Regions from separate parts of the Homo sapiens genome. Here all the other regions are linked to region 5. Evidence: promoter capture Hi-C in 16 types of primary human blood cells and fetal thymus (Javierre and others, 2016). All regions are on one chromosome and are shown on one strand. Each heading gives the region's core, a stretch centred on a gene start or on the middle of the fragment in contact. The rest is flanking DNA. Distances are from core to core; before and after follow the strand shown.

Region 1 (3,830 bases), core at 1,294-3,793, 210 kb after region 5:
GGCAAAACACACTGAAAAGTTTCAACAGTAGAATACAACAAGTAGAAGAAAGAACATCAGAGCTGGAAGAAAAGGCTTTTGAATTAACCCAATCTGACAAAGACAAAGATAAAAGAATTTTAAAAAAATGAACAATGCCTCCAAGAAATTTGAGATTATGTTAAACATCCAAACCTGAGAATAATTCATGTTCCTGAGGAGAAAGAGAATTCAAAAGTTTGGAAAACTTATTGGAGGGAATAATTGAGGAAAACTTCCCTGGCATTGCTAGAGATCTAGACATCCAAATAAAAGAAGCTCAAAAAACACCCAGGAAATTCATCACAAAAAGATAATCACCTAGGCACATAGTCATCAAGTTATCTAAAGTCTAGATGAACAAAATAATCTTAAGAGCTGTAAGACAAAAGCATCTGATAACCTCTAAAAGAAAAACCTATCAGATTAACAGCAGATTTCTCAGGAGAAACCTTATAAGCCAGAAGGAATTGGGGTCCCATCTTTACTCTCCTGAAACAAAACAATTACCAGCCAAGAACTTTGTATTTGGCAAAACTAAGCTTCATAAATGAAGGAGAGATAAAATCTTTTTCAAACAAACAAATGCTGAGAGAATTTGCCACTATCAAGCCAGCACTACAAGAAATGTTAAAAGGAGTTCTAAATCTCACTCTGTCACCCAGGCTGGAGTGCAGTGGCATGATCTCAGCTCACTGCAACCTCCGTCTCCTGGGTTCAAGTGATTCTCCTGCCTCAGCCTCCTGAGTAGCTGGGATTACAGGTGCATGGCACCATGCCCAGCTAGTTTTTGTATTTTTAGTAGAGACAGGATTTCCCCATGTTGGTCAGGCTGGTCTTGAACTCCTGACCTCAAGTGATCCACCCGCCTTGGCCTCCCAAAGTGCTTGGATTACAGATGTGAGCCACCATACCCAGCCGAGTTCTAAATCTTGAAACAAACCCTGGAAATATACCAAAATAGAACCTCCTTAAAGGATAAAGATCACAGGGCCTATAAAACAATAACACAATGAAAAAAATAACAGAAGGTATTAAGGCAACAGCTTTAGTATTGAATAGAACAATACCTCACATCTCGATACTAATGTTGAATGTAAATGGCCTAAATGCTTCACTTAAAAGATACAGAATGGATAAATATCAACCTACCAAGTATCTGCTGTCTTCAAGAGACTCACCTAAAACATAAGCACTCACATAAACTTAAGGTATAGGAGTAGAAAAAGATATTCCATGCAAATGGAAACCAAGCAAGCAGGAATAGCTATTCTTTTATTCTTATATCAAACAAAACAGACTTTAAAGCAACAACAGAAAAAAAATAAAAAATAAAAAAAGACAAAGAGGGACATTATATAATAATAAAAGGATTAGTCCAACAGGAAAATATCACAATCCTAAATGTATATGTACCTAACACTGGCACTCCCAAATTTATAAAACAATTGCTACTAGACCTAGGAAATCAGATAGATGACAACACAGTAATAGTGGGGGACTTCAGTACTCTACTGACAGCACTAGACAGGTGATCAAGACATAAAGTCAGCAAAGAAACAATGGACTTAAACTATGCCCTACAACATACGGACTTAACAGATATTTACAGAACATTCTATCCAACAACTGCAGAATATACATTCTTTTCTTCAGCACATGGAACATTCTCCAAGATAAACCATATGATAGGTCACAAAACAAGTCTCAGTAAATTTAAGAAAATCAAAATTATATCAAGTATCCTCTCAGACCATAGTGGAAAAAACCTGGAAATTAACTCCAAAAGGAACCCTTAAAACTATACAAATACATGGAAATTAAATAATTTGCTCTTGAATGATCTTTGGGTCAACAATGAAATCAAGGTGGAAATTAAAAAATTCTTTGAGTTGAACAAATAGTGATACAATGTATCAAAACCTCTGGGATACAGCAAAAGCTGTGCTAAGAGGAAAGTTTATAGCATTAAATGCCCACATCATGGAGTCTGGAACAGTGCAAACAGACAATCTTAACCTCAAGCTCACACCTCAGGGAACTATAGAAATAAGAACAAACCAAACCCAAACCCAGCAGAATAGAAGAAATAACAAAGACCAGAGCAGAACTAAATGAAATGGAAACAAATACAAAAGACAAATGAAACAAAAAGCTGTTTCTTTGGAAAGATAAGCAAAATTGATACACCAATAGTGAGATTAACCAAGAAAAGAAGAGAGAAGATCCAAGAAAACTCAATTAGAAATGAAAAGGGAGATACTACAACTGATACCACAGAAATGCAAAAGACTATTCAAGGTTGCTATAAATACTTTTACACACAAAACTAGAGAATCTAGAGGAGACGGATAAATTTCTGGAAATATACAACCCTCCTAGGTTAAATCAGGAAGAAATAGAAGCTCTGAACAGACCAATAACAAGTAGCATGACTGAAACAATAATTTAAAAATTGCCAACAAAAAATGTCCAGGACCAGATGGATTCATGGCTGAGTTCTATCCAACATTCAAAGAAGAAACGGTACCAATCTTACTGAAACTACTTCAAAAGATAGAGAACAAGGCAATCCTCCCTAAATAATTCTATGAAGTCAGTATCACGTTAATACCAAAACCAGGAAAGGACATAACAAAAAAGAAAACTACAGACCAATACCGTGATGAATATAGATCCAAAAATCCTCAAGAAAATACTAGCTAACTTAACCCAACAGCATATTAAAAAGATAATATACCATGATCAAGTGGGTTCTATACCAGGGATCAGGGAAGGATTAACAATAAATGTGATACATCAGATAAACATAATTAAAAACAAAAATCATATGATCATCTCAATAGATGCACAAAAAGCATTTGAGAAAATCTAGCACCCTTTATGATTGAAAGCCTCAGCAAAATTGGCATAGAAGGGACATAGCTCAAGATCATAAAAGCCATCTATGAAAAACCCATGGCCAATATTATATGGAATGGGGAAATGTTGAAAGCATTTGCCCTGAGAACTGGGACAAGACAAGGATACCCACTTTTGCCACTTGTATTCAACACAGTACTGGAAGTCCTAGACAGAGCATCAGACAAGAAGAAATAAAGTTCATCCAAATCAGTAAAAAGGAAGCCAAGCTGTTGCTTTTTAGTGATGATATGATCGTATACCTAGAAATCTCTACTCAATGAAAAAGCTCCCACATCTGATAAATGAATTCAGCAAAGTATCAGGATACAAAATCAATGTAAAAAAATCAGTAGCACGGCTATGCACCAACAACAACCAAGCTGAGAAAAAAATCAAGAACTCAACCCCCTTTTACAACAGCTGCAAAACAAACAAGCAAACAAAAACAACTTAGAAGAAGCCAACTGTGAAGGGGAGGGGCCGATATGGCCAAGTAGAAACAGCTCCTGTCTGCAGCTCCCAAGGAGAGGACCGTAAACAGCGAGTGAATTCTGCCTTTCTGAGATACCGGGATTCTCTCATTGGGACTGACTAGGTGGTTGGTGCAACCCACAGAGTGCAAGAAAAAGCAGGGTAGGGTGATGGTTTACTCAGGAGCTTCACGGGGCAAAGGGACCTCACTCCCGCAGTGAGGGATTGTGCTACCCACCTGGAGAACTATGCTTTTCCCACAGAGTTTTTCAACCCATGGATCAGGAGATTCCCTCATGTTCCTACACTACCAGGTCCCTGGGCCCCAAGCACAAAGCTGTGGAGATCCATGGCAGCTGCTAGGGTAGGCAGCCACTTGGGGCAGGCATTGAGCTGCATTTTTTGCATACTTTGGCAGCTCCTGGAACTCTAGTGAG
Region 2 (3,797 bases), core at 1,218-3,717, 190 kb after region 5:
TATTTGGAGAGATGTTGATGGCTTTTTGCTTCCTCAAGATATCACACTGGTCCATTAGATTGATGGCATTATGCTGATTGGATTCAGTGAGCAAGAAGTAGCAAACACACTAGACTTATTGGTGAGACATTTGGCTGCCAGAGGATGAGAAATAAATCCAACTAAAATACAGGGATTTACCTCAGTAAAATGTCTAGGGGTCCAGTGGTGTGGGGCCTGTCAAAATATTCCTTCTAAGGTGAAGGATAAGTTGCTGCATTTGGCCCCTCCTAAAACTAAGAAAGAGGCACAATGTCTAGTGGGTCTATTTGGATTTTGGAGGCAACACATGCCTCATCTGCGTGTGTTACTCCGGCCCATTTATCAAGTGACCCAAAAGGCTGCCAGTTTTGAGTGGGGTCCGGAACAGGAGAAGGCTCTGCAACAGGTCCATGCTGCTGTGCAAGCTGCTCTGCTACTTGGGGCATATGACCCAGCAGACCCAATGGTGCTTGAGGTGTCAGTGGCAGATAGGGATGCTGTTTGGAGCCTTTGGCAGGCCTCCATCGGTGAATTACAGGGGAGGCCTCTAAAATTTTGGAGCAAGGCCCTGCCATCTTCTGCAGATAACTACTCTCCTTTTGACACACAGCTATTGGTCTGTTACTGGGCTTTGGTGGAAACCGAATGTTTGACTATGGATCATCAAGTCACCATGCAACCTGAACTACCTATCATGAACTGGGTGCTTTCTGACCTATCTAGCCATAAAGTGGGTCATGCACAGCAGCATTCCATCATCAAATGAAAGTATACTTGATCGGGCTTGAGAAGGTCCTGAAGGCACAAATAAGTTACATGAAGAAGTGGCTCAAATGCCCATGGTCTCCACTCCTGCCACCCTGCCTCCTCTCCCCTAGCCTGCACCAGTGGCTTCATGGGGAGTTCCCTATGATTAGTTGACAGAGGAAGAGAAGACTAAGGCCTGGTTCACAGATGATTCTGCATGATATGCAGGCACTACCTGAAAGTAGACCACTGCATTACAACCCTTTTCTAGGACATCCCTGAAGGACAGCAGTGAAGGGAAATCTTCCCAGTGGGCAGAATTTCGAGCAGTGCACCTGGTTGTGTACTTTGCCTGGAAGGAGAAATGTCCAGATGTGCGATTATATACTGATTCATTGGCTGTAGCCAGTGGTTTGGCTGTATGGTCAGGGACTTGGAAGAAGTATGATTGGAAAATTGGTGACAAAGAAATTTGGGGAAGAGGTAAGTGGATGGACCTTTCTGAGTGATTGAAAACTGAAGATATTTGTATCTCATGTGAGTGCTCACCAATGGGTGACCTTGGCGGAGGAGGATTTCAATAATCAAGTGGATAGGATGACCTGTTCTGTGGACATCACTCAGCCTCTTTCCCCAGCCACCTCTCTTATTCCCCAGTGGACCCATGAACTATGTGGTCATGGTGGCAAGGATGGAGGTTACACATGGGCTCAGCAACATGGACTTCCACTCACCAAGGCTGACCTGGCTACCGCCACTGCTGAGTGCCCAATTTGCCAGCAGCGGATACCAACACTGAACCCTCGATATGGCGCCATTCCTCAGAGTGATCAGCCAGCTACCTGGTGGCAGGTTGATTATATTGGATCTCTTCCATCATAGCAAGGGCAGAGGTTTGTCCTCACTGGAACAGACACTTACTCTGGATATGGGTTTGCCTATCCTGCATGCAATGTTTCTGCCAAGACTCCATCCATGGATTCATGGAATGCATTATCTGTTGTGGGAAGTCAGGGACCCTGAATAGAGGGACTGGGTGAAGCCACAGCAGAAGAACATAAATTGTGAAGATTTCATGGACATTTATTAATTCCCTAAATTAATACTTTTATAATTTCTTATGCCTGTCTTTACTGCAGTCTCTGAACATAAATTGTGAAGATTTCATGGACATTTCTGACTTCTCAATCAATACTCTTATAATTTCCTATGCCTGTCTTTACTTTAATCTCTTAATCCCATCATCTTTGTAAAGTAAGGATGTATGTCACCTCAGGACCCTGTGATGATTATGTTATCTGTATAAGTTGTTTGTAAAACATGCGTGTTTGAACAATATGAAATCTGGGCATCCTAAAAGAACAGGATAACAGTGATTTTCAGGGAACAAGGGAAATAACCATAAAGTCTGACTGCCTGCGGGGCGGGGCGGGGCAGAACAGAGTCATATTTCTCTTCTTGCAAAAGCGAATAAGAGAAATATCACTGAATTCTTTTTCTCAGCAAGGAACAGCCCTGGGAAAAGAATGCACTCCCACTGACAGGCCCCTAAAATGGCCGCTCTGGGAGTGTCTGTCTTATGCAGTTGTAGATAAGGGATGAAATGTACCCTGGTCTCCTACAGCACCCCCAGGCTTGTTAGGATTGGGAAATTCCAGCCTGGCGAAATTCTAGTCAGACTGGTTCTCTGCTCTTGAACCCTGTTTCCTGTTAAGATGTTTATCAATGACAATGCATGCACAGTGGGACAGGGTACCTTATCAGTAATTCTAATTTTGCCCTGGCCTTCTGACCTTGCCCTGCCCATTTGCCTTGTGATATTTTGTTGCCCTTGAAGCATGTGATTTCTGTGACCCACACCCTATTCGTACACCCCTCCCCTTTTGAAATCCATAATAAAAACTTGCTGGTTTTGTGGCTCAGGGGGCATCACAGAATCTGCCGACATGTGACATCTCCCCCGGACACTCAGCTTTAAAATTTCTCTCTTTTGTACTCTTTCCCTTTATTTCTCAGACCAGCTGACACTTAGGGAAAATAGAAAAGAACCTATGTTGAAATATTGGGGGCTGGTTCCCCCGATACTTATCCACTATCATGGTATTCCACACAGCATTGCCTCTGACCAAGACACTCACTTTACAGCTAAAGAAGTGCAGCAGTGGGCTCATGCTCATGGAATTCACTGGTTTTACCATGTTCCTCATCATCCTGAAACAGCTAGATTGACAGAACAGTGGAATGGCCTTTTGAAGTCACAATTACAGTGCCAACAGTGTACAGTGACATTACTTTGCAGGGCTGGGGCAAAGTTCTCCAGAAGGCCGTGTATGCTCTGAATTAGTGTCCAGTATATGGTACTGTTTCTCCCATAGACAGGATTCATGGGTCCAGGAATCAAGGGCTGCAAGTGGAAGTGGCACCACTCACCATCACCCCTAGTGTTCCAATAGCAAAATTTTTGTTTCATGTTCCTGTGACATTACATTCTGCTGGCCTATAGGTCTTAGTTCCAGATGGAGGAATAGTGCCACCAGGAGACAAAACAATGATTCCATTAAACTGGTAGTTAAAGATTGCCACCTGGACACTTTGGGATCCTCCTACCTTTAAGTCAACAGGCTAAAAAGGGAGTTACACTGTTGGCTGGGGTGACTGACCCAGATCATCAAGATGAAATCAGTCTACTGCTCCAAAACAGAGGTAAGGAAGAGTATACATGGAATACAGGAGATCCATTAGGGCATCTCTTAGTATTACCATGCCCTGTGTTTAAGGTCAACGGGAAACTACAATAACTCAATCCAGGAAGGACTACAAATGGTCCAGACCCCTCAGGAATGAAGGTTTGGGTCACTATACCAGGAAAAAAATATGACCTGCTGAGGTGCTTGCTGAAGGCAAAGGGAATGCAGAATGGGTAGTAGAAGAAGATAGTTATCAATACCTGCTAGAACCACATGACCAGCTGCAGAAATGAGGACTGTAACTGTCATGAGTATTTCCTCCTTTTGTTAAAATCATGTTTG
Region 3 (3,491 bases), core at 826-3,325, 240 kb after region 5:
AACAGCATGGTTTATGTTAAAAATAGATGCATAGATCAATGGAACAAAATAGAGGACCCAGAAATAAATGTATGTATTTACAGCCAATTACTTTTCAACAAAGGTGGCAAGAACATACCTTGGGGGAATGGATGCACTTTTCAATAAATGGTGCTGGGAAAACTGGATTTCTAGATGCAGAAGAATGAACCCAGAACCCTATCTCTCACCATAAAGAAAAATCAACTCAAGACAGCTTAAAGACTTAAACATAGGACCCAAAACTATAAAACTGCCAGAAGAAACATAGAGGAAATAATCCAGAACATTCGTGTAGGCAAATATTTTATGGCTAAGACTTCAAAACCACAGGCAACAAAAACGAAAATAGAAAAATGAGACTATATTAAACTAAGAAGCCTCTGCACAGCACAGGAAACAAGCAACAGAGTGGAGACACAACCTATTGGATTGGAGAAAATATTTGCAAATTATTCATCTGACAAGGGGTGAATATCCAGATTATACAAGGAACTCAAACAACTAAACAAACAAACAAACAAACAAACAAAAACTAATAATTCCAATAGAAACTGGTCAAAGGACATAAATAGAAGATTCTCAAAAGAGGGCATATATGTGGCTAACAGTTATATTAAAAAAGTACTCAATGTCACTAATCATCAGAAAAATGCGAATCAAACCACGATAGGATACTATCTTACTCCTTTTAGAATGGCTATTAATAAAAACACAAAAATAGCAGGTGCTCGTGAGGATGCAGAGAAAAGAGAAACTACTCCTGTACACTGCTGGTTGGAATGTAAATTAGTGCAGGTACTATGGAGAACAGTATGGAGATTTCTCAAAAAACTAAAAATAGAATTACAATATGATCTAGCATTCCCACTACTGGGCATTTATTCAAAGGGAAGGAAATAAATTATATTAAAGCAATACTTGCACCCCTATGTTTATTGCAGCACTAGTCACAATAACAAAGATATGGAATCAACCTGTGTCCATCAATGGATGAATGAATAAAGAAAATGGACATATATATAGAATGAAATACTATTCAATCATAAAAAAGAATGAAATCATTTTTGTAGCAACCTGGATGGAATTGGAGGTCATTATGTGAAGTGATATAAGCCAGGTACAGAAAGACAAATTTTACATGTTCTTACTCATATGTGGAAGCTAAAGGAGTTGACCTCATGGAGTTAGAGAGTAGATTGATAGACTAGAGGCTAGGCAGGTTGTGTGTGTGTTTGTGGGTAGGATGGATGAAGAGAGGTTGGTTAATGGGTATGAATGTAGAGTTAAACAGAAGGAATAAACTCCAATCTTAGGAGAGTAGAGTTACTGTAGTTAACAACAATGTATTGTATATTTCAAAAGAGCTAGAAGAGAAAACTTTAAATATTCCCAACACATATAAATTGTAAATACTTGGGGTGATGGATACTCTAAATATTCTAATTTGATCATTACGTGTTCTATGACTTAATAAAATGCCACATGTAGCGCATAAAAATGAACAAATATTATATATCAATAAAAAGAATAGATATAAGAACCTCTATAAATCAATAAGAAAAACACAGATGACTTAATTGAAAAACGGACAAGATATGAAGTGACTTCATGAATAAGGATATCCCTATGCTGGGGAAACCTATAAATAGATGCTTAAATTCATAATTTATAAAAGAAAGGTGAATTAAATCCAGCATATGGTATAATAATACTTCACACTCATTAGAATGATTAAAAAAGGAAATTTTGGTAAAGGCACAGAGAAACTGGAAGTCTCTCATACGCTGCTGATGGAACTGTAAATTAGTCCAATAACTCTGTAATAAACAAATACTCTGGTAACAAGTAATTTAACTTCTAGGTTTATTTAATAAGAACTAACAGAAATCAATGCTAAGAAATTCACTCAAAACTACACAATTAGATAAAAACTGAACAATCTGCTCCTGAATGACTTCTGGGAAAATAATGAAATTAAGGCAGAAATCAAGAAATTCTTTGAGACTAATGAGAACAAAGATAAAACATTCCAAAATCTCTGGGACACAGCCAAAGCAGCGTTAAGAGAGAAGTTTATAGCACTACACATCCACATCAAAAAGTTAGAAAGATATTACGTTAACAACTTAATATCATAATTAGAGGAACTACAGAAACAAAAGCAAACCAATCCCACAGCTAGCAGAAGACAAGAAATAACCAAAATTAGAGCTGAACTGAAGGAAACTGAGACATGAAAAACCATACAAAAGATCAATGAATCCAGGAAATGGTTCTTTGAAATAATTAATAAGATAAACTACTAGCTAGACTAATAAAGAAAGAAGAGGGAAATCTAAATAAATACAATCATAAATGACAAAGGGGACATTACCACTGACCCTACAGAAATACAAAGAACCCTTAGAGACTATTAGGAACACCTCTATGCACACAAGCTCAAACACCTAGAAGAAACTGATAAATGTTTGGATACATACAACATCCCAAGAATGAACCAAGAAGAGATTAAATCCCTGAACAAATCAATAATGAGTTCTATAATTCAATCAGTAACAAGCCTACCAACCAGAAAAAGCCTAGGACCAGATTGATTCATAGCCAAATACTACCAGATGTATAAGGAAGAGCTGGTACCATTCCTTCTGAAACTATTCCAAAAAATTGAGGAGGGGGACTCCTGCCTAAGTCATTCTATGAGGACAGCGTAATCCTGTTACCAAAGCCTGACAGAGACACAACAACAACCAAAAGAAAACTTCAGGCCAATATCCTTGATGAACGCAGATGCAAAAATCTCTACAAAATACTAGCAAACTGATTCCAGCAGCTCATCAAAAAGTTAATCCATCATAATCAACTAGGCTTTATCCCTGGGATGCAAGATTGGTTCAACATATGCAAATCAGTAAATGTGATTTTTCACATAAACAGAACTAAAAACAAAAACCACATGATCATCTTGATAGATGCAGAAAAGGCTTTCAATAAAAATTCAATATCCCTTCATGTTAAAGGCCCTCAACAAACTAGGCATTGAAGGAACATACCTCAAAATAATAAGAGCCATCTATGACAAATCCACATCCAACATCACACTGAATGGCAAAAAGCTGGAAGCATTTTCCTTAAAGCCAGAACAAGACAAGGATGCCCTCTCTCACCACTCCTATTCAACATAGTACTGGATGTCCTAGACAGAGCAATCAGGCAGAAGAAAAAAATAAAAGGCATCCAGATAGGAAGAGAAGAAGACAAACTATCCTTGTTTGCAGATGATATGATTCTATACCTAGAAAACCCCATAGTATCTGCCCAAGAGCTCCTTGACCTGATAAACAACTTCAGCAAAATTTCAGGATACAAAGTCAATGTACAAAAATCAGTAGCATTCCTATACAATAATAACATCCAAGCTGAGAGCCAAATCAAGAACTCAACCCCATTCACGATAGCTTCAAAAAGAATAG
Region 4 (3,610 bases), core at 932-3,431, 170 kb after region 5:
GTTGCCCAGGTTGGAGTGCAGTGGCATGATCTCGACTCACTGCAAGCTCTGCCTCCTGGGTTCAGGCCATTCTCCTGCCTCAGTCTCCCAAGTAGCTGGGACTACAGGCGCCCACCACCACGCCTGGCTAATGTTTTGTATTTTCAGTAGAGATGGAGTTTCACCGTGTTAGCCAGGATGGTCTTGATCTTGTGACCTCATGATCCGCCTGCCTCGGCCTCCCAAAGTGCTGGGATTACAGGTGTGAGCCACCACACCCGGCCTAAAAAATTTTTAAAAATGTAAATATGTGTAGTCTGCAAAGCCTCCCTTTCCTCATTATATTTTTCCTCATTTACCTCCTGTCCCTTTTTCACACATTGGTAACCACTGTAATTAGCTCATTTTGAGTTCTCCAAGAGTTTCTTCAGGCAAATACAAACCAATAAATGATATATTCTTTCCCTGCCTAGCACAAAACTCTGTCTCCTACCCATTTGTTCCACAAGTTGCTTTGTTAAATTAACAATACAGGTCCCATATACAATATTATTATTAACTAGAGCCATCATGCTGTATAGTAGGCCTTTAGAATTTATTCATCCTATACAACTGGAACTTTGTGCCCCTTGACAAGGGCCTCCCCATTCCCCCCACTTCTCCATCCCTGGTAACCACCATTCAACTCTCTGTTTCTATAAATTCAACTTTTTAAGATTCCACCTATAAGTGAGATCATGCAGCATTTTTTTGTGTGGGCTTATTTCACTTAGCGTAATATTCCACAGGTTCATCCACGTTGTTGCAAATGGCAGGCTATCCTTCTTTTTTAAGGCTGAATAATATTCCACGTGTGTGTGTGTATAATAATTTATTCATATCTTGGTAATCGTGAATAATGCTGCAGTGCACAACATAATAGTTAATACTGTATTGTACACTTGAAATTTGCTAACAGAGTAGATCTTAAGTGTTCTTACCACTCTCCCACACACAGAGAAAAGACAACTATACTAAAAGATGGATATATTAATTAGCTTGACTGTAGTAATCAGCTCAGTATGTATATCAAAACACCACATTGTACATCTTAATTTTCATTAAAAAACCCCAAACAAAAAACATACAATGCATTTCACAGATCTTTATGTATCAGTATATGGAAAGCTTCCTCTTTCTTTTTTTACAGCAGCGTCGGATGCTGTTGTACAGATATAATTTTTCTAATCGGATCCCTGTTGATAATTTAAAATAGTCCAGTTTTTTGCTCTCACAGTGCTGCAATGCATATTGTTTATTTTCATATATGTAAGTTTAATATACATTGTCAGAAATAGAACTGCTGAATAAACAGTTGTATATATTTGTAATTTAGAAAAAGTTTTCAAATTGCCTTCCATAGGCCTCGTGCCAATTTATATTCTCATCAGCAATAACTGAAAGTATCTGTTTTTCCATTGCCTTGTCAATGGGCTGTTGTCAAAATTTAAGGGTTTTTGTTAATCTGTTAGGTGAAACATAGCTTATTCTAAATTAGTATTTCTTCTATTATCCAATTAAAGTTTTTTGTATTTCATTTTCTATCAACAGTTCTATCATTATCAACTGATAATGTATTTTGACAGTTGTCTTTTGTGTTGCTATATATTCTTGTGGCTTTCCAGTATTGTTTTTATATTATAAAGATTGGGGCTGGGAAAGGTGGCTCACGCCTGTAATCCCAGCCCTTTGGGAGGCTGAGGCTGGTGGATGACCTAAGGTCAGGAGTTCGAGATCAGCCTGGCCAACATGGTGAAATCCTGTCTCTACTAAAAATACAGAAATCAGCCAGGTGTGGTAGCGCCTATAATCCCAGCTACTTAGGAGGTTGAGACAGGAGAATGGCTTGAACAGCTACAGTGAGCTAACATCGCACCAGCCTGGGCAACAAGAGGGAAACTCTGTCTCAAAAAAAAAAAAAAAAAAAAAAAAAGATTGGCCTGTGATATACATTACAGATATTATCCTTAGTTTGTCATTTGCCTTTTATTTTTCTTATGTGCTTTGCTATACTATAGGAATCAAATATATACTATAAAAATTAAATATTTTCTTTTCCTTTCTCTTTCTCCTCTCTGTTTTCTTCTCCTTCTTTGTAGACAATATAGAACATCTTTCTGACCTTGAGGTCAGGAAGTCCTCCTCGACAAGACACAAAAAAGAAAAATCACAAAGGAAAAGAATGACAACTTGACTCCATCAAAATTAAAAACAGGTGCACATCAGAATATACCATATATACAATTAAAAGATAAGTAATGATATAGAAGAAACTAATTGCCTCACACAAAGCAAACTTGGACTGCTTTCTAGAAAGTAAAAAGGAATCCTAAAATAATCAATATGAAAAAGACAAACAACCAAATAAAACAAAATAAAAAAGCAGACAAAGATTCAAACAGGCAAATTCACAAAAGAGGGAATTCAAATGGTCAATAAACACATTAAAATATATTTAAACTGCAGTAACCAGAGAATAGCAAATGTAAAACAAGGTGTCATATTTCTACTCATTTGATTTGCAATTATTAAAAGTGTTGAAATTATCAATTGCTGGGGCATCAAATATCCTCATAGATGGCCAATGATGGAAGTATGTACACATTATTAAGTTTTGTTTCTAGCAGTGTTTGGTAAGAATTGAAACTTTTGCTCTATTTGAAATTTATCTTGGTATATGGTGTGAAGTATGGATTTGATGTAAACATTTTTTGGATGTTTTCCTAGCTGCTTTAACACCATTTATTAAACAGTACCTCTTTTTCATGCTGACTTGAGATGACATCTTTGCCATATACTAAATTCACATATGTCTTTGGGTCAGCTTCTGAATTTACTAATCTGTTCATCTATCTGTCTACTCGTGTCACTACCTCCTGTTTTAATTATTACAGCTTCACAATATGATTTAATGAATGTATTATTATTTGATTTTTTTTTCTCCTTAGTCACATTTTTCTTCTGTGTTCTTTTTGTTTTTGATATTTTTTCTTTATATTGCCTTGTATTGATTTTGTACAGGCATGCCTCATTTTATTGTGCTTTGCTTTACTGTGTTTTGCAGATATTGCATTTTTTTCCAGATTGAAGGTTTGTGGCAACCCTGCATCAAGCAAGTCTATAAGCATCATTTTTCCAACAGTATGTGCTCACTTATTGTCTGGGTGACATTTTAGTAATTTGCACATTTCAAGCTTTTTCATTATTTGTATATCTGTTATGGTGATCTGTGATCAGTAATCTTTGATATTACTATTATATTTCAAATGTTTTGGGACACCATGAACTGGACCCACCTTAACAGAACTTAATCTATAAATGTTCTCTATAGAACTTAATCTATAAAAGTTCTTTATCAAACGAATCTATAAACGTGCATGTTCTGATAGTTCCACTAATCAGCTGTTTCCCATCTCTCTCTCTCTCCTCAGGCCTCCCTATTCCCTGAGACACAACAATATTAAATTAGGCCAATTAATAATGCCACAATGGCCTCTAAGAGTTTGAGTGAAATGAAGAGTTGTCTATCTATCTATCTATCTATCTATCTATCTATCTATCTATCTATCTATAATCCATCTATTTATTTTTG
Region 5 (3,733 bases), core at 847-3,346:
TTGAACCCAGAGATGAAAGTTGCGGTGAGCCGAGGTTGCACCACTACATTCTACCCAGGGCTACAAAGTGAGATTTTGTCTCATAATAGTAATAATCTCAAAAGACTGAAATTATATCAGGTGCTCAGATAATGTTACTTTGTTATAATGTTGATGGGAAAAAAAATTAATTCATGGTTGAGGCTAATGTCTTTGTGAAATTTGCACCTTTTCCCCATGTCTGTGTGGATTTTCTCCAGGTACTCCAGTTTCTTCCCACATCCTGAAGATGTGTATTTCAGGTGGGTGGGCATGTGTCAGCGATCTCAGTCAAGGTGAGTGTGGGTATATGTATGAGTGTGCCCTGTGTTGGGATGGTGTCATGGCCAGGGTTGCTTCCCACCTTGTATCCTGAACTGCTGAATGGGCTTTGGCCTCCTGTAACCTGAACTGGAGTAAGTGGGTTGGAAAATGAAAGAATAAATGAATACAAATTATTATAAGATAAAATATAAAGTATTTGATAATCATACAAATGCAAAATAATAAGAAATGTTGTATGAAAGTGCTTAGAGAGTCTGCCTTATTGAATATTGTTTGTTTTTGAACTGTGTGTTGGTAGGAGGTACTCCTGACAATTTTCACTTTACAAACATTTATTTCTTGATTTAACCTACCACCAGGATGACGGCTGTCACTCACTGATTCACCAAAAATTGGACAAATTGCTTACTTATTTTTGTTGATTTTTCTTAAATGTATGTATAGCTTACATTTATATCAATATTCAACATTAGAAGTGTTTCAAGTCTTCACTTAGAAATTTGTTGATGTTTTTGTGATACAAATATGCCATAGGAACTAATTCTTGTTTATATTAATTAGCCTATAGTAAAACTGGTTTTGTTACATGGCATCTCACTTGAAGTTGAAGTTTCCAAGACCCTATCAACAACGTTGAGAACTTACTGTCATAGGTTGAAAAACTGTACACCAGGAACCGGACCAAAATAGATCTGACAGTAATATTGATATTAGAAAACAACTTTAAGTCTAATAATGATTTTTCTCTAAAGAGGTTGATTACTTCATGATAGAAGGATCATGTCACCATGATGACACAGACTGTTAGTGCACATCAATATCCATTTTGTCCTCTTCTTTTTTGGCATACAACCAAAACTTACATAGGCTTTTTATCATTTTACTGGGCCTATGTAACTGAGTTTTAGCCAGTGGAATATGTCCAAGTGACATTTGCCACTTCTAGGTCTGGCACATTAACACTTGATGTATTACATTTCAGACCCTCTTATCATTCTGCAGTGTGTTTGGCGATCTGTTGTTTAAGATCTATATGCACTGGTTACTGTTGCTTGCCTTCCATTCCTACCCTTACTAATCAGATTCCTATTATAGCTACTTCTGTCCTTGATTCATTTTGTATATTAGATGTGTGTGTGTTCATGTGCATGCATGCACCCTCACATGTAGGTGTATATGGGAGTGGTGGTAAAGACAGGATATTTCTTCAGTTCATGGGATTTTATTTCAGGAGAATTCAAACATTCACGTATTGGAGAAGATGACACATTTCTTGAATGTCTTGGGCTTTGAGCTGAATGCACTAACTAGAAGGGACTTCAGATTGTCCTCCTTCGGGGGAGGTAAGTATATTCTTCATATACAGGTAAGAGTGAAATGATAGAAGAATGTTCCTCCTCTCCTTTTCTTCCTGGACAACAGATCAAATATTTCTCAGATCTTTTACAGCTGAATTGGAGTCACATGGACAGGTATGATCTTAAAATATAAAAAATTATTTTAAAATTACATGCTAAAATTTTATAAAAATAAATGCTAAAACTAACTTAAACGGAAGCATTTGATTAAAAAATTTATCCAAAAAAGTTTGAATTTTATATGAAACAGGATAGAAGATGAAAAAGCTAAAGAAATAAAATATAAATAAATTATGGCTGGGGACAGTGGCTCACACCTGTAATCCCAGCACTTTGGGAGGCTGAGGTGGGAGGACTGATTGAGGCTAGGAGTTTGAGACCTGTTATTTGAGGCACATGGGAAGGAAAGTTTTCTTTGAGATATTCCACATTTTATAATATTCTTCAAGAGATTTACAGAGTTCCTTGAGTGAATTGTTGGTTTGTTCTTAATACTGAATTTCCTATTCAAATTTATTTAGAAGTTCATTTCTTACAGTGATCTCATCTCCTATTAAGATATTCTTCAAGGTAGGTTCTTGGCCAGTTTCTCAATGACAGATTTTTAAAAATATTGTTAATCTTTTTATTAATATGAGAACATAATTGTTCCAGATCTGGAGGCCATCCTTTAAGCTTCTTGCAACAGTCTGGGAGCAAAGAGTTTACTCGCCACTGGGTAGTGGGCCATGGACACCCCAGTCTCCACCAGAAGTTCGGGATTGCAAAATGGGACTCTGGCAGCAAATTTCAAACTGTATGCCAGACCTGGCCCTTTGCAGGTGGGCATCACTAAAAATTTAAATTACCAAAATTGACTCAAGAGTAAATCTATGTCTGAGGAGAAAGCCTTTGGAAAAATTGAATTAGTAAGCAAAAACCTACCCAAAATAAATAACAGTAAGTCTAGAAAATTTTACACAGGGATTACCAACAAACATTCAAAGCACAGAAAAATCTCTTTAGCACAAAATGCTACAAAATACAGAAAAAGAGGAAAATTCTGTAGTTTCTCTCATGAAGTTAATATATTCTAGTTAGCTGAACTAGAAAAATAAGAGAAAGAAAAATTATAGGTTAATCTTCCTTATGAGTACATGCAAGTATCATAAGATGTTGACAAATTGAATCAAGCATTTTAAAAAATGCATTATGATCAAATATGATTTATCCTAGAAATAATGTATGAGAGTTATAAAATTCCCATTAACATTAGGAACAAGCATTAATACTTATTATCTCCACCAATAATCATCATTGCTCTGGAGTTCCTAACCAATGAAATAAGAAAGAAATAACCAGTTATATGGATTAGGGAAGATCAAATATTGATTATTTGAATATTTTTTTTTATAGAAAATCCAATAATTGTACAGCTGAAGAACTGGAATAGGAGAGTTAAGCAAAGTTTCTACATACAAGAGCAAAGTGGTCAAATCAATAGGTTATCTGTAGGCCAGTGCTAATTACATTGACATGGTGGCCTTAAAATTTTTACATGCAATTCATAAATCAGTTTCACTGATATTACTTTACCAGATATTGATATTCTAATGTTGTAATTATACAACTGTATTATTGTGTCAGAAATAAAATTAATAGACCAACAAAACAAAACTCAGAACAGATTCACATATTTGATAACTTGGTGTATGACAAGTGTGACATTAAAATTCAGGAGTAAAATAAAAAAATAACAAATAATGCCGGGATAATTGGTTAGTCACATGGGAAAAAGTCAGAAAGATCTCTGCCTCACTCTATTTACATGGAATATACTTCAGATGAAAGAAACTTAAATACAAAGAGCAAAACTTTAAGACTTTTAGAAAAAGATAGGAGAATTTATGACTTCCAGTAAGGAAAGCTTTCTTAAGCTAGATGCAATGGCATAAACGACAAAATGCATTTTTTTTATAACATTAAATAAAACATGTGTTCCGTAAAAGACACCAAAATACAATTAAGAGATAAGTTACAGTGTCTTAGTCCATTCTGGCTGTATAAAAAAATACCATAGACTGAGTGGCTTA
Region 6 (3,610 bases), core at 815-3,314, 150 kb before region 5:
GATCATTCTATATATTTTCTTTCAACAGTTCCAGCAAGAGAAATAGCAGAGTATTTTTTAAAAGTATACAGCAAAGATTGTTCCTATTATAATGACAAACTCTGGAAACTGTAAATACAAATAATCATTGAACAGTCAAATGGTCATATTCCTAATCAGGAAGTAGTTACAGTAAGAACAGTCTGCAATCCAGTTATACACAATTGTCAATAAGAATGTGTTTCTTGTCAGTTGATTTCATAGTTCTTTCTCTAAGAGACAGCAAAACTTTGGCAACTGGGTGTACTGAAAATATATTTTGAAAGTTCGAGATATCAAGATACAGTCATAGCATTTCGTTTTGTGAAAGGTGGTCTGTACACCAAGGCTCAGAGGTTGTTAAAGATTGATTCCATGTGGAAATAGTGCAAATATCCTGCACAGATAGCTTACAAGGTTGCTGGCATAGTTATTCACCAGCAGAATCTTGGATTTTGTTTGCATAGCTCACACATCACTGGAATGTGGAAAAGTGTGCTATTTTTTGGCAAGAGCAAAGGAGACATTAAACTGAAGTGAATTACCATGTTGGACATGCTGAATCCATGCAGAACACTGGGGCGAAGGCTGCTACCTGACATCATTGGTTTTTGTATACTGGTTTTGTTTTTGTTGAAGCAGTTCTGTTATAGCCAGAAGCTTTTTCAATACGTGCTAGACAGAGGAAAAATGGTATGAAAATAAATGAAAGCTCGGTCAGCAATTTCAGGATGGGAACCTGGATTTGAAAAAAACTGTATCAAAGCAAAAGGATGCATAAAATATTACCACAATTCCCCTCAAAACATAAGTCTCTATTATTCAGTCATTGGCTGAGTATTTCTGGTCATAACTAAGAGAATTTTTATACCCTAAAGTGAACAGAAATTTGTTTGTGTTTGGCATGCTCCTATTTTTTAGGCCAGAACTATCACACTATCACATGTTGTCAGAAGCAGTTTATCTCTCTTTTAAAAAAGGCTTTTTTTATTTAATATCTAAGGCAAGTCAAGTCATATTATTAGTTTTGAAAGCTGCGGGGGGAGGGGCGGGGAGAAACAGGACTTGAGGATTCTAGAATCTCAGGTTGTAGAGAACTCAGTCACCAAACTCAATGCTTTAATCCCTTCTACAAAATCCCTGCCAAATGGTTAGCCAGTGCGGTGACAGCATTCACTATCTCCTGAAACTACATTAGAAACTAGTCAAAACTGTCCCTGTGGTCACTTCCTCTCAGTAGCCCTTATGTCAGCTGAGGACATTCAAAGTGTAACTCATTTTGTTCTATATCTCCAATATCTTAATTGACCTGGTATTAAGTCCCTTCAAATTCTGGTCTGGTCTTTGAATACATCCTTATCTGTATCTGTTTGGTGCAGATGGCAGATAGAAGTCTATCAATGTAGTCTACTGTTTCTCAAAGTGTAGGCCATGGTTCACTTGCATCGGAATACCTATAAATTCCTCTAAGAGTTTGTTAGACGTGCAGCTTTCAAGGCCACACTTCAGAACCTCTGGATGTGAAATTTGACAAACATCCCAAATAATAATCATTTGTTTCACAGTTTGAGAATCACTTTGGCCATGCACTATATCTGTATGTGACAGAGAAAAGACAAGACAGAAACTGAAAGAAAAAAAAATAAAATCAATATTGACTTACTAACTAGCCATTTTCACACATGCTACCAAAGTGTTATTACACTGTTTTCCAGTAGAATTAACATTCAGACTCAAGAGCAAAACCTGATGTTTTTCAGTATTAAATGTACATCATTTTAGTCGGGGCCCGTTATTTCTGTCTGCTGAGATCTTTTGTAATATGATGCAGAGTCTCAAAAATTTAATGTAACAAGATAAAAATGTTAACCAGAATTCAGCTATTTATTAACTCTCTAAGTGTTATCTTTGAAACATCATTGTTAATGAAGGCTGGCGAAAGCCTACCTGCTGTGCACCACGCTCATTACTGAGCGTTCGAAGTTCATCTGAATGAGCCACGCAAATCTCATGCAATGCTGCTAAATCACGGGACAGGTCCGTTCTAGAATGCTCTGTAGTGTCCGGAAGTTCAGGTACATTCTTTAAGGGAATCGTAAAATTGCATTTAGAAATACAAATCTTCTTTTTTTTTGTTTTTTTTGAGACAGAGTTTCGCTCTTGTTGCCCAGGCTGAAATGCAATGGCATGATCTCGGCTCACTGCAACCTCCGCCTCCCGGGTTCAAGCGATTCTCCTGCCTCAGCCTCCCAAGTAGCTGGGATTACAGGCACCTGCCACCATGCCCAGCTAATTTTTTGTTACAAATACAAATCTTTCTCTGTAGTCTCATGTGAAAAGATTCTAATTGGGTATATTAGATAATTTTTTTAATACTCAAATTTCTCTTAAAATTCTAAAGATTCTTATTGAAATATAATATTCAGTATTAATGATGGTAAAATATAGACTTTGTAACCTTTGTATTCACATGAAAGCCAGATTCCATTTTTTTCCGTAGCATGACAGATGTGTACAATATTATTGCTATTCTAAAAATAAGGGGTGGGGGGTGTGGCTTCCTAACAATTAGCTTTGTATCTGAAAAAATCTAGAACATATGCCAAATAGTGTAGGTTAACTGCTAATCTGGATTAAATGCAGCCTAAACTTAAAATTCCTAGATGAAATTTCATTATTAAGCTCCTGTAGTTTGTCTAAGTTGATAATGCATATAAGTAGGAACTGCACTATGAAAATGCAATGAGAACCTGTCAGGTTTGCAATTATCTGTGGACTATGCTCAGAATACTTGCTAATGTGTGGGAATAATCAGTGTTAATTATGGTACTTTCAGATAAGGTTCATAAAGTAACTTAGTCACTATAATGAAAGTTTATAGTATAGGTTGAATATCACCCAAAATGCTTGAGACCAGAAGTGTTTCGGATTTTGGAATATTTGCAGTATACTTGCCAGTTGAGCATCCCCAATCCAAAAATCCAAAATTGGAGATTTTCCAAATAGCATTTCCTGTTGGTGCTCAACAAGTTTTGGATTTTTTAGCATTTCAGATTTCAGATTAGGGATACTCAACCTGTACTTTATTATCGACACTAAATGCCAGTGTTATTTTAAGCCTTGGAATAACATTTAACAAGGGCTTGGATTACCAGTAAAATGGTGACAGTATTTGCTTTACATTGCTAAAAACTGCAAAACAATGTTATCTATGGGACAGAGAAACACAGTTACTCAGAATACATTCAGTGATTAAAGGTTTATAGCGATGAAAGACTCCATATTTGCCTTCAGAGAACTGACTCCAGTAGAAAGGACTTTAGAATAAAGTAATCATAGCAACACAGAATTATATATCACAGATACACAGGGGATGCTTAGGAGGTAAAACAAAAGTTATTTTATTCATGTTTGGGGTTCAGCAAAAGCTTCCTGAAGGAGATAATAATTGAGGTGGGTCTTCAAAAATAAATTTGGCTTATTATACAGGTGGTGAAGAAATATGGTAGTATTATATTTGGATTCTAAGCAGTATGAAATCTTAGATTGTGTGGCATAACTTCTCACACAGTTCCTTAAACATTATAGTAAA
Region 7 (3,849 bases), core at 269-2,768, 190 kb before region 5:
AACTCAATGTAGGTACAAGACTTGACCACATCACACAAGCAGTAAACAGCAAAGTAAGAGTCTGCCTAGTTTCGTCTAACTCCAGAACTCTTGCTGTTCCCCACTACACTGCACTATCCCCTAGCTTTATAATGTCAGCCTGCACACCTAAGCAATCATTATGAACCTATCCCTGGAATCTTGTAGAATGACAGGAAGTCCTGTTGGAACCCTAGGAGCAGGTTATGACAGCATCACTTCTTTTGAAAATGGGGAAAACTGTTCTGCTTATCAGTTACCAACCACATAAGGATACTAATCTTTTTGTTCTTTATTCGGAATTAAGAAAGGGACATGGGGGCATCAAAGCTAACAAGCAGCAAGATTCTTCTGCCTGCATCCCTGAGAAGCTGTGAAATTTAGGTAGTTAAAAGGTGACTGGCAGGAGGATCCAATCCGTTGTGTTCTCTGCATTGACACATATATCATAATGTTGGGTAACAGTACAACGCTGAATGCAGAATATAGATTTCTTGTCATATATCATGTGTAAGAGATGTATTTAATATTCACTATTGAATATTAAAACTATATTCCCTTGAAGCAACATAGGCATCAAGAAAGAAAGAAAAATGACATGTTATCTTTTTTGACATGATAAACATCAAAAAGACTCAGAATAAACATTATCTTAATCATGATAGGTATGCCTGGGGAAAGAACATGGTAGTTGCTGGAAGCACAAGAGCATCAGATGAGTCCAGCAAGCCCAGTTCTGTTCATGACTGTGACATCAAATATATAACCTTTGACGACCTTAAGTCCCTCACCTTAGTTTCCTCATCTATTAAAGCCAGCTATTTACATGGCCTGTATCTACCTATTAGCTTATTGTGAGGAGTAAATAAAATAATGGGGATGATCACAACAAACTTCTATAAAAACAAAAGTTTGTCTAATACTTTGATAGGATAATACATCTATTATATGCAAATTTTACTTAACTACAGAATTATTTTAATTAGCAACTACAGATTTGTTGAGTCATCCATATAAAATTAGAAAATAGAACTATTAAGTATACATATTTAAACAGCAGTGTGGGAAACATTGAAGCACTATTTATTGAGTGTAGTTTCTGGTGTGATTCAATTCTCATCCCAAAGACATAGAATGTCTTTTATTTTCCCAGGTTAAATATAGTATCTTCGGGAATTATTGACATTTAAAAAAAACATTTTCAATTAATATTAAATTCTGAGTGGTGCAATATTTTGAAAGAGGAAAGAGAGCAAAGAATAAACAAATGAAATTGATTTTCAAGTCTAAAAGTTTAAAAACATAAAAAGTAGGAATTAAAATATTAAAATGGTGGTGTCAGATGTTGGATAGGCACAATGTCTTAGTCCATTTAAACTGCTATAACAAAATACCATATACAGGGTATGTTATGAACAACAGAAACTTATTACTCACCGTTCTGTAAGGTGAACAGTTCAAGATCAAGGCATCAGCAGATTCAGTGTCTGATGAGGGCCCCTTCCCTCATAGATGACATCTTCTAGCTGTGTCTTCATGTGGTGGAAGAGGGAAGGAACAAGCCTCATAGTGTCTCTTTTATAAGGACAGTAACCTTTTATCTGGATGCTGAGGAGCCCTCATGACCTAATTGCCTCCCAAAGGGCCCCACCTCCTGATACCATCACGTTGGAGATTAGGTTTCCATCTTTGAATTTTCAGAGGACAAAAGCATTCAGACTATAGTACATAGGCCTGCATATTTCCAGTTCTAGAAGGATCTCACACTTTGGAGTGTTTTTCTCTACATTTTCTGTAGCTTCCTCTATGCCTGGTAGTGGCTAGACCAGCAGTGCCATCCAATCAGGGTTCTCCAAGCTCAGATCATAAAACACAAGGTCTTCATTCTCCATTTCTCCACTAAGGTATTTCTCCAACCAACTTTCCAGGACCTGGGTTCTACCAAATGCCCATGGAACCCTAGGGCTCATGCGGATGGGATTGTCCTGAGACCCCTGCCTGACCTCTAATCCAAGAGAGCAGACTGAAGAGTGGTAACTCCCAATGTCAGCACAGAATTTCTTTTTGTGGGACCACACAAGACTGAGTTTTCAGAATGGAACCAACAAGCAGCAGATGTTGGCCGACTCTCTTATCGATGTAAGACAAGTTCAGGACTCAGAGCTACAAAGAATCTACTGCTAAAACTTGAGCTTGATCTGAGTGTGTGGTCTAGAACATGGGCTCACACTCACCTCTGTTGTGACCACAGTACCACCTTTGATCCAGCACTGAAGAGTATTCTTTACCCTATGTACCCTTGGCCATCCCTGTGGCAGATACCTACCCCTTCTTTAGGTTCCATGCCCCATGTCTGGCAGTTCTCTGGGATTTGGTCATATTATCTACTCTAAGGCCTTTGGATCTATATCTACTCTGGCTATTGATCACTGTGGTAATGCCATGCTTTTGTAAGATGGACTTCCTTACACAAATTGGACCATTCTTTCCCTATCCCATTCCCCTTCCCCTCAAACTCCTCATCTGTTCTCTCCTCTGGTGGCAGTGTATAGAAGGAAGAGAGAGTCAACTTTTAAGAAGATCATGTTTTATGTGTGCAGTGATTATAGCCTAAGGAGTTCAAGAGAAAATATAGTTGGAAGTCATGTTGTTCTATGCTTATGCATTAAAATTCAAAACGAGAAATTTAACATGAATGGAGAATGAATTGTTGTTCACATGTTTCTGCATAGTCTGGGTAAGTTTACATTTCTGTTCATCATCAATAAAACATAGTAACAACATTTAAGAGAGTCTTTGGGGGCCAGTAATCATGGAAAGCACTATGGATGATGCAAAGTCATGAGCAATCATGTAACCAGAATTAAATAAATGGTATTAGGGAACTGCAGAGGCAAGATCTATATTTTTCAATATAAGCAGGTTCCAGCAAGCCATGACCTTATGAGTAATAACAATGTTAATGCCTTTTTCTTTGAGTAAGAGATATAAAATTAGCCAGGAATGGTACATTTTACAATAAAGAAGAGAGGGCTCCTGTACCTGAACAGGAAAAGATGATACCTGGATACTATTAGAAAATGTCATCTGCCATGGGCCTGATCAGGCTTGCATGTTCTTGCTCTGTGTGCCAGATTACTAGCCTTATCCATCCCCTGTTACTGATCAGGGACACATAGGCACTAAGTAGGTCAAAGTGACCACAATAAGACTCCAGGTTTGTAGCAGGAGGGGTCTGAATGATTTGCTACCTGCTACAACATTTTGTAGCTTGCTCAGAGAGTCCTGTACCCTTGGGACCCCTACTTTAATGCAACTCACTGCAAGTACAGGTATCATCTAAGCCCATTTCATCAAGCTCTGATACTTGGCAAGGAGAACCAATGCAAATATGCTGATGCTCATGCTTTTTGCTGTACTGTGAGCAATTAAATCCTTTGCCTCTGACCCAGGAGTCTCCTGTTTTTTTGCCAGTATCCTCGAAATAGTAACAAACTAACTTGTTAGATTGCATTAGGGTAAACTCTCAGAACCTTCACAGTTTTTGGCAGATACTACAAAGAATCCCTTCTCAACTCATTATTCTAAATCACCATCAACCTATCACTATAACTCACATGGGCCTGTGAATTTCATAACACATTGTAAAATCAAATTAACCACATAGACAGGAGCCTGACAAAAAAGTTTTGCCCTGTACCCTGCACACCCTATGGATGGCCCTAGATAGGTTCCCATTATTTGAATGGCTACTTATGTCATAAAGTAGAAAATGTACCCAAGTTTGCTTTTTGTTTTGTGAAACTGAGAGTCCGGAAATAATTTAATAAT

What was found. Contacts are between HindIII fragments. The CHiCAGO score rates a contact against its expected background, and 5 or more counts as called.
Region 1: a contact is called between a fragment that was not itself captured here and the fragment with the promoter of LINC01949 in region 5, in 3 of 17 cell types (M0 macrophages, M1 macrophages and M2 macrophages). The highest score is 10.7, in M0 macrophages.
Region 2: a fragment that was not itself captured here is called in contact with the fragment with the promoter of LINC01949 in region 5 in 3 of 17 cell types (M2 macrophages, M1 macrophages and M0 macrophages); the score reaches 8.3 in M2 macrophages.
Region 3: a contact is called between a fragment that was not itself captured here and the fragment with the promoter of LINC01949 in region 5, in 6 of 17 cell types (M0 macrophages, M2 macrophages, M1 macrophages and 3 more). The highest score is 9.5, in M0 macrophages.
Region 4: a fragment that was not itself captured here is called in contact with the fragment with the promoter of LINC01949 in region 5 in 11 of 17 cell types (M0 macrophages, M1 macrophages, M2 macrophages and 8 more); the score reaches 27.6 in M0 macrophages.
Region 6: a contact is called between a fragment that was not itself captured here and the fragment with the promoter of LINC01949 in region 5, in 3 of 17 cell types (M0 macrophages, activated CD4 T cells and M1 macrophages). The highest score is 6.7, in M0 macrophages.
Region 7: a fragment that was not itself captured here is called in contact with the fragment with the promoter of LINC01949 in region 5 in 2 of 17 cell types (neutrophils and activated CD4 T cells); the score reaches 5.3 in neutrophils.

Annotation. Positions count from the first base shown.
Region 1 is chr5:87,030,507-87,034,336 of GRCh38, reverse strand. No RefSeq gene overlaps it. Among named protein-coding and RNA genes, the nearest start is that of MIR4280, 83 kb to the left of the region's middle. The HindIII fragment of the contact is 3,962 bases long and covers 563-3,830 here.
Region 2 is chr5:87,047,799-87,051,595 of GRCh38, reverse strand. It overlaps MIR4280HG (MIR4280 host gene), which reads left to right. Exons shown (of 2, transcript NR_186582.1): 2 at 632-2,690. It overlaps LOC645261 (PP565), which reads left to right. Exons shown (of 3, transcript NR_188227.1): 3 at 632-2,690. Among named protein-coding and RNA genes, the nearest start is that of MIR4280, 65 kb to the left of the region's middle. The HindIII fragment of the contact is 5,407 bases long and covers 1-3,797 here.
Region 3 is chr5:86,993,823-86,997,313 of GRCh38, reverse strand. No RefSeq gene overlaps it. Among named protein-coding and RNA genes, the nearest start is that of MIR4280, 120 kb to the left of the region's middle. The HindIII fragment of the contact is 6,669 bases long and covers 1-3,491 here.
Region 4 is chr5:87,065,288-87,068,897 of GRCh38, reverse strand. All of the region lies in intron 1 of MIR4280HG (MIR4280 host gene), which reads left to right. LOC105379065 (a long non-coding RNA gene) reads left to right here. Exons shown (of 3, transcript XR_948540.3): 3 at 2,118-2,397. Among named protein-coding and RNA genes, the nearest start is that of MIR4280, 48 kb to the left of the region's middle. The HindIII fragment of the contact is 2,066 bases long and covers 1,149-3,214 here.
Region 5 is chr5:87,237,564-87,241,296 of GRCh38, reverse strand. LINC01949 (long intergenic non-protein coding RNA 1949) reads left to right here and starts at 2,096. Exons shown (of 3, transcript NR_130914.1): 1 at 2,096-2,231; 2 at 2,316-2,482. The region is part of intron 2 of LOC101929380 (a long non-coding RNA gene); the gene reads right to left. The HindIII fragment of the contact is 4,009 bases long and covers 1-2,338 here.
Region 6 is chr5:87,387,883-87,391,492 of GRCh38, reverse strand. It overlaps RASA1 (RAS p21 protein activator 1), which reads right to left. Exons shown (of 25, transcript NM_002890.3): 24 at 1,966-2,100; 25 at 1-693. The coding sequence ends at 610. It also overlaps a transcript of CCNH not described here. Among named protein-coding and RNA genes, the nearest start is that of CCNH, 23 kb to the left of the region's middle. The HindIII fragment of the contact is 2,768 bases long and covers 681-3,448 here.
Region 7 is chr5:87,430,325-87,434,173 of GRCh38, reverse strand. The region is part of intron 1 of LOC105379066 (a long non-coding RNA gene); the gene reads right to left. Among named protein-coding and RNA genes, the nearest start is that of CCNH, 19 kb to the right of the region's middle. The HindIII fragment of the contact is 6,327 bases long and covers 1-3,849 here.